Regions from separate parts of the Homo sapiens genome. Here region 1 is linked to region 2. The links are contacts of gene promoters, found by promoter capture Hi-C in blood cells and fetal thymus (Javierre and others, 2016). All regions are on one chromosome and are shown on one strand. Each heading gives the region's core, a stretch centred on a gene start or on the middle of the fragment in contact. The rest is flanking DNA. Distances are from core to core; before and after follow the strand shown. Region 1 has its middle 21 kb from the start of DDX18. Region 2 holds the start of CCDC93 (CCC complex scaffolding subunit CCDC93).

Region 1 (4,354 bases), core at 410-2,909, 220 kb after region 2:
GGGGATGGCATTGAATCTGTAAATTACCTTGGGCAGTATGGCCATTTTCACGATATTGATTCTTCCTAACCATGAGCATGGAATGTTCTTCCATTTGTTTGTATCCTCTTTTATTTCATTGAGCAGTGGTTTGTAGTTCTCCTTGAAGAGGTCCTTCACATCCAACAAGGGGCTCAATTCTAAGAAATTTCCATAGGTATTGGTGGCTCTTATTGAGATTCACCTGCATCTTCTAATTGACCCCCACGTCCCCACATTTGCATTCTCAATGTGTCTTCCTGTCATGTACATGCCTCATTGTCCCATGCTGTAGAGGTTACCTGTGAGTCTATAGCATCAATATTATCTACACATTTTGGGCCCTCTAACCCCTGTAGTGGTTCATCTCCCTCTAGGTTCCTTAGATAAGGCATTGAAATGGAGCAAATGGTACTAAAAAGTGTACATCATTAGTTATTTTCTATTTTTGTTGTCTTCTCAGCTCAACCTAATATTAAAAAGTATTATATTTAGTGCTTCATTCCCATAGGCTTGTTTTTTGCAAATAGCTGTCTGTGAATTCGTATGCATAAGACTTCCTAGAGTAAGGATAAAGGTGGAGGCAAAGGAAGGCCTAAACTATGCATGTGGTGGTATTAGCTGACAGCATGTCCAGGTAACTGGCCATTATTGATTCCCTTTATCTTGGGTTAAACTCACTCACATAGTCACTTACCTCTGTGACTATGAAAGAAGAATGCCTCTTTATTCTTTTTTCCCTTTTCATTTGGTTTGCCTTACACCTGTGTGAAAGGAATAATTATACCTGCAAGACCTGGAGCCAGGCTATAAAAACTTGGGACAAGTTACTTAAATTTTCGTGCTTCATTTTCTTATCTATAAAATGGGGATGATGTTAGTAACTACCTCATTGGATCACTGAGAAAGTGAAATGAGTCAATATGTGTCATGTGCTTAGAACAATCCTAGTATACAGAAAATAGCTCAATAAACATTGGCAGGTATCATTAAGGTGTTTCTCTGGTTTGCTGTTTTGTGTTTGTAAAGAAAGCCTTAAGCAGGCTGAAAGTAGCTGGAGAGCTCGTCAAAGATGTGCTTTGTGGGTTCTGGGCTCGTGGTGCCACAGGGAACATATCTTATTATATTTGTTTTGTTTTTCTAGCATGCAGTATGGTGGCTGACACATGGTTGAGATTCAATAGAAAATGAATGAATGAATGAAAATGCTCTCAGTCCTGCTTAGATTCTTGGCTATAGGCATGCCTCCTTTCATACAGACATGTGAGTCACACAGTACAGCTCAGAAACCTTGGCTTGAAATTCTCCAAGGGGCGGGAGAAGAATAGAGCCTTTTGGAAGCACAGACTTTAAGCCATAAAGTACCAAGGACCCATTTTAGTAGATCACTTCTGTACAGATTTCACCATTAAGAAAACTTCACAGACTCTTGCAGTTGAGAAGTGACTCCCATGTTTTTCTACTTGAAGTAACATTAGCACTACTGATTTTTCAAGGCTAGCAAGTAGGGTCAACTGAATAATGAGCAGATTAATCAAGACTTCAGATGCTGCCTCTAGCTCATAACTTATAGACTGACAGGTTCATAATCTTTAAAATCATAATTTTCCCTAGGGTAGAGGACTTTTCTATGATAAGCTGTTCTGTTTTTTTTTTTAATATGAAGGTTCTCAAAAAAAGGATTACAATCTCTTTTCCATCAACAATGTGCACCTCAATTATTTATACCTATTCAGCTACCAAAAAGAAATGTTTTAAGGAATCATGGTAAGGGATTCTCTCCCTTTCTCTCTCTCAAATACACACAGAACTATGGACTAAACCTGCAGACCTAGCTCACCCTTTTCAGTACCTAAAGTAACTTATGGCCAAGAAGTCACCTAGAAATATGTAGTTTGCCATTAAGTCATTATGGCTCTGGGTTTAAAATTTCTAGTCCACAGTCTGCTCCTAAACAAAAGTCTGAGAAAATACATCCATCATCGCTCAAGTTCTGTACAGTATGTGCAGTCTTGAGAATTTGGATTTTTGTGACTAGAACAATATATTAAATCATATAATTTGTTTTTGCTTGTTTATTTGTTTGTTTTTTTTAGGCAGAGTCTCGCTCTGTTGCCAGGCTAGAGTGCAATGGCATGATCTCGGCTCAGTGCAACCTCTGTCTCCCGGGTTCAAGTGATTCTCCTGCCTCAGCCTCCCAAGTAGCTGGGATTACAGGCACCTGCCACCACGCCTGGCTAACGTTTGTATTTTTAGTAGAGATGGGGTTTCACGATGTTGGCCAGGCTCATCTCAAACTCCTGACCTCAGGTGATGCACCCGCCTCTGCCTCCCAAAGTGCTGGGGTTACAGGCGTGAGCCACCACGCCCAGCAAATCATATACTTTTAACAGGGCTCAGAATTGAATAAATACGTGATTTAAAAGTTCACGTGGCTCATAGTGCTTGATTAGAGATCTCCTTAGAAATGTAAATATTAAAAAGTTATCAAGAGGTCAGGTTCAATGGCTCATGCCTGTAATCTCAGCGTTTTAGGAGGCCGAGGTAGGCAGATCTCTTGAGTCCAGAATTCGAGACAAGTCTGGGCAACATGGCAAATCCCTGTCTCTACCAAAAAAAAAAAAAAAAAAAAAAAAAAAAAATTAGCCTGGTGTTGTGGTGAGCGACTGTAATCTCAGCTACTTGGGAGGCTGAGGCGGGAGGATTGCTTGAGCCCAGGATGTTGAGGCTGCAATGAGCTATGATCACACACTGCACTCCAACCTGGGTGACAGAGTGAGACCCTATCTCAAAAACAAAAAAAAAGTTATCAAGATAATACTTGTAAAAATAAAAATAAAAAGTACTGTGACATTTACAAGGGAAAAAATAAATCTCTCACTCCAGTCTTCATCACAGTGGAAACTTGCTTTAACTTTCTGCTCTTTCTTTTAAATTCTAAGTAAATATCATATTTCTAAGTAGTTCATTTATTGCTGTATCTTAAATATCTAGATTTTTTTGACTTTATATAATTATAGGACACTTTTCGTCCCTTTAATAAGTCTTCATCTTAATCCTTCTTGATAGAGTTATGTTACTATTTTTAATTATTAATTATTCATGCCCTCTTCATTGTATCCACGCAAATATTATCCTTACAGAGACATGTAGATTTTTGTCTTTCTCAGACACATTAATTGTCTTGCTTTTCATTTAAATAACTTATTATCTGCCTATTTTTAATTTTATAAGGATGTCTGTATCCTACTTCTTCAATCTCGTCTGTTTGCTCTTGGACCTGTTACCTAATGCCAACATTTTCAATAAGTTGGGGCATAATTATGTGGTTTGATAAATATCTCCTCCAATATAGTAAGAAGTGTGTTGAGGGGAGAGAGTTAGCTGTATTTCACTTATAATGAGGAAGATTATAAGGTCTTTCTCATTATATATCACAATATGTAATATGTTAATATCACTATATTATATAATTATGATACATGTAATTATATACATATAAATTATATGGTTTTTTTTCTCATATGTGACTTGTTGCAGAAAAAGTTCTCTGTCACCCCATCATGAATCCAGCCTGATTTTGGCCAGTTCTCAATGTGTTTTTTAACTTGGAGTAATCTAGCCTCTCTTTCTGCTCCTGATAATCATATATGAAATAAAGCAATAGTGATCTGAATGTATTTTTGGGTGTCTAACTGCCCTGGCTACTCATTATTTGTGAATAATCTGAAGGCAGAGAATTAAACCAGAAGTTTTTTGTTAACTCTTCCAGATTTGGTTTTTATGAACAATTTGTGTTGTGGCTTTTTGACCATATTTGAGAGCCTAAAGACTTACAGCCAGGCGTGGTGCTCACGTCTGTAATCCCAGCACTTTGGGAGGTCGAGGCAGGAAGATTGCTTGAGGCCAGAAGTATGAGACAAGCCTGGGAAACATAGTGAGATCCCATCTCTACAAAAAATTTAAAAAATAGTTGGACATGGTGGCATGCACCTGTAGTCCTAGCTACTCAGGAGGCTAAGGTGGAAGGATCTTTTGAGCCCAGGAGTTTGAGGCTGGAGTGAGCTATGATTGTGTCACTGTACTCTAGCCTGTGAAAGAAAAAAAATAAAAGAAAGAAAGAACGACAGGAAAGAAGGAGGGAAGGAAGGAAGGCAGACAGGAAGAAAGAAAGAAAGAAAGAAAAAGAAAGAAAGAAAGAGAAAGAAAGAAAAAAAGATTAACAAATCAGGTGGTTTGGCTCTCACTTTGGCATTGGTGGAAATGGAAGTATAAGCCTAACTTGATAGTTCTTAAGAAAAAAGGAAGTACATTAAATTTAACAGGAATGATGCAT
Region 2 (3,916 bases), core at 1,025-3,524:
ATTTTTTTTTTTAAGCATGCCCCATGCCCCTCAACTCTGTTACTGTCACTCTACACCTGTTGTAACATAGGACAGTTTCTTTTTTTTTTTTTAGACAGAGTTTCACTCTTGTTGCCCAGGCTGGAGTGCAGTGGCACAATCTCAGCTCACCGCAACCTCCGCCTTCCCAGTTCAAGTGATTCTCCTGCCTCAGCCTACCAAGTAGCTGGGATTACAGGCATGCGCTGCCACGCCCGGCTAATTTTGTATTTTTAGTAGAGACGGCATTTCTCCATGTTGGTCAGGCTGGTCTCGAACTCCCAATCTCAGGTGATCCACCCGCCTCGGCCTCTCAAAGTGCTGGGATTACAGACATGAGCCACCGCGCTCGGGAAGGACAGTTTCTTACTGAGGAAGTTAGCTACTCATGCTTATTTAAAACATTGCAAAAGCATTATAACAGGGAACTCAGGGTGTGGCCTGAGTCCTGTTATTCTCCAGGCTGCTATTATATACAGCTGTTTAGGCTTGCCTGCTATGTGAGATCTTACTACCTGTTCCTAGGCATCAGTACCTGTCTGGTCACTCAACAGTGGCCACAAATTATTATCACTCTCCATTCCCCATCAACCTATACCATTTCAGTGAATGACAGTTTTAAAACTACAAAAACAACACATTTGGGAAGTTATGAGAGTAGAAATTGAAGTTTATTGGCTTCACAAAGGATAAGAGCAAGATATACCACACAGGAGGGTTCCCATCTCAATACCTTAACTTGCATATTCAGATTATTCAAATTATTGGGGACCAGGGTTTGGGGATCGTGCACAGCTTTGAGTAATATTTGCTAGTTATATTTAAGAACAAAATGGCATCCTTAGGGCAGTTCCAACTATTTGTGAGCTCTGGCTCCAGACAAACCTCTGTCTGTCAGGATGAACTCCAGGAGGAGTACAAAAGGTGCAAAAATAAAATAAAATAGAAAACATCATATATATATACACGTATATATATACACACATATATACACGTATATATATATACACACATATATATATATACACGTATATATATATAGTTTTTAGACAGGGTCTTGCTCTGTCACCCAAGCAGGAGTGCAGTGGTGTTATCATAGCTCACTGCAACCTCAACCTTCCTGGCTCAAGCAATTCTCCCACCTCAGCCTACCGGCTAGCTGGGACCACTGGCACCGGGCTAATTTTCTTATTTTTTGTAGAGATGGAGGTCTCACTATGTTGCCCAGGTTGGTCTCCAACTCCTAGGTTCAAGTGATACTCCCGCCTCGACCCCCAAAGTGCTGGGATTACAGGCATGTGCCACCGCGCCTGCCTACTCTTTTAAAGACGCTAGGGATGCAAAGAAGAGACGAAAGCAAACACGAAACCTTTTTGATCTCAAGGAACTAAAGGTCTGAGTCTGACACTTCCCATCCCACACACATATACAGAGGGAAGGATCTCTTCTCCAGCAAAAGTTTTCACGAAAGTCATCTCTTTCCTCATTGCTTAAAAGAAACAAAAAGCCAAGAAGCCGTTATGGAGCGGGTGTGGGGGCCTGTGACCTTTTGTCTAGTTGCCATCCTCCGGGACCAACAAGGGGTACATCAAATAAGGGACGCGGCGGCTCAAATGACATGAACATAGGAGTCCGCATTCTCTGAGATGTCATTCCTCCAGGAAGACCCAGGAACCGTGAATAGGGCGGGGTGGTGGGCAATATCTGAAGCGAGGTTTCCTGGGAACGCGATGCCACTGGCCAGGACGCTGGAGAGGGCAGCGGGCTTGAAGAATCCCTTCTCAAGGGGTCCGTTCCTGGGTCGTATATGGAGAAGTCTGTCCAAGCGTGTGTCTGTAAGGTCTAGAGCCGGGCGTGCATTCAGAATCCTCAAGCTCATCTGTACTTGGACTCTGACCCTGAAGCGAGGCGGTTTCCGAAGTCTGATTCACCGAGGGGACAGGACCTATTTGGGGCATCCGATGGCAGCGAGAAGAGAAGGGAGCCGAAATGCAAAATATTCTCAAGATGCAGGAGGAACCCCTCTCAAAGAGCGCCACGGAGAAAACTTCAGAGTACGGGCGCGATGATCCAGCACAACGCCAGGACCTGCAGCCCAGCCCACCTCTCCCCGGGCTGCTGTGGCGCAGGCGCAGTGGCGCCGCGCTCCGGCCCCAGCGCGCATGCTCTGCCCGGCTGCGGCGCTTCGGGCAGGCGGCGGCGGCGGCGGCGGCGGCGGCAGAGGGAGTTTCCGCTTTGTACTCCACCCCGGTAGCAGCTCCGCGGCAGGGACAGCTTCCTCCGGACGCTTGGCGGGCTTCGCTCTCGCCTTACGACAGCCCGGTCGGATCATGGGGTTGCCCAGGGGGCCGGAGGGCCAGGGTCTCCCGGAGGTAAGAACGCCTCCTCCTTCCCTGACACGTCGGGGTTCCTGAAGAGAGGGCCGAGCCGCGGGGCGGCGGGCTGAGCGGGCCCTGGGTGCGTTAGGGGCGCCCCGCCCCCTTCCTCAGGCGTATCCACCTCAGGGAAGCGCCGACCCTCTTCTTGGAGGCGGGGAGCAGGTACCCCTGCATGGGCAGGGGGCGGCGGGCGGGTGAGGACAAACTTAAGCCGCTCCCGGGTCTCTTGGGGCGCAGGTGGCCTTCCTAGCCCGACACCTGCTCTGACGCAGCCCCACGCGCCGCGGGGTCCTGGGCTCCCACCTTTCTCCCTGTCCGGGACGGGCTCCCCCACCCCGCGCCGCAGGGCTAGCCCCGAGGGCCGAGGCTGCTGGGCGCTGGAGTCACGAGACCGCTCTCCGAGGCGGTTCGGGCTCGGGTGGTGACCTTGGGACGTCTACCGCCACCCCGCAGAGTCCCGGCGGCCCGCCCCACCCGCCTTGCTGTCGGGAGGGAATGCCACCCTCCTTGCGTGGACCCGGGCCGGGGCGGCGGGAGGAAGTTTGGGAGACTTGCGCGCACCAGGGAGGTGTCCCGCTGGGTCAGCGCGCCGGGGCGTTCGGGGTGGGACGCACTCCAGGGGTGCTGTGTGGCGGGGGACCCGGCTCTGGGCGGAAAGGCTGCGGCTTCTCCAGAAGAGGGCGGGGTTCTTTTCCAAAGGTGTTTGTTAAGTACTCACTTAGTGCTAGGGAGGGGGTCATGAGTGGTTTGCGGATTTCCACGTTTGCTGGGAATACAGGGAAAGTGTATTCATTTTCTTTTGGCTGCAAATACCACTTAGCATCTCATAGGTAGTTTGCATCTGTCGTCCCTTTCAGTTGATTTTACTCAAAGGCTAGTCTAGTTTACTGGATTCTGGAGAGAAATGGAAGCCACGCCGCACCTCTGCCTTTTTCCTAAGGTTCTGGAGCAGGCATTGGGCAGGGTGACTGCTTGCTTGACGTGGTGAGTCGTCCCTTCACACTTACCTGCCAGTGACCAATGTTACTCCTCTGCATTCCTCCCAAATCCTCAGTTCTTTCATATCACAAGTATCCACTAATTGAGGGATCACTGTGTTCTGTGTCCAGAAGCTGGGAATATATATAGTCTGAAAGGACAGATTTGTTTGTCAGTGTGTGCTCCCCGAATGCAAGTCCATTTTGTTGTCTTAAGAAAACCTGACAAGCATAATGTTGTCAGAACCCCTGTATTAGGTAAAATCTTACATGCACGTTGCCTGGGATGGGACCCAGGATAGTGAACAATAGGATTTGTACTGTGACATTTGAAGTTTTCTTTTTTGCCACTTCTGTATTCTAGGCTCTCATCAAGTTTTTGCCTGGCCTTTTGCTGTAGACTTCTGTCTGGTCTCCCACGTTCTACTTTAAATCCGTCCAACCCAATATTCCACAGTACTATCAGTGGAGGTCTTTCTGGGGGGAAAATAAATAAATTAATTAATGAAGAGCAACCTGCTGCTGTATGTCCTTCGTTTAAAC

What was found. The method cuts DNA at HindIII sites, captures the fragments that hold promoters and counts their contacts. A CHiCAGO score of 5 or more calls a contact.
Region 1: a contact is called between a fragment that was not itself captured here and the fragment with the promoter of CCDC93 in region 2, in 2 of 17 cell types (naive CD8 T cells and naive B cells). The highest score is 6.7, in naive CD8 T cells.

Annotation. Positions count from the first base shown.
Region 1 is chr2:117,791,823-117,796,176 of GRCh38, reverse strand. No RefSeq gene overlaps it. Among named protein-coding and RNA genes, the nearest start is that of DDX18, 21 kb to the left of the region's middle. The HindIII fragment of the contact is 7,003 bases long and covers 1-4,354 here.
Region 2 is chr2:118,012,428-118,016,343 of GRCh38, reverse strand. It overlaps CCDC93 (CCC complex scaffolding subunit CCDC93), which reads left to right and starts at 2,274. Exons shown (of 24, transcript NM_019044.5): 1 at 2,274-2,390. The coding sequence starts at 2,349. RefSeq lists silencers at 2,067-2,266, 2,737-2,786. The HindIII fragment of the contact is 9,438 bases long and covers 1-3,916 here.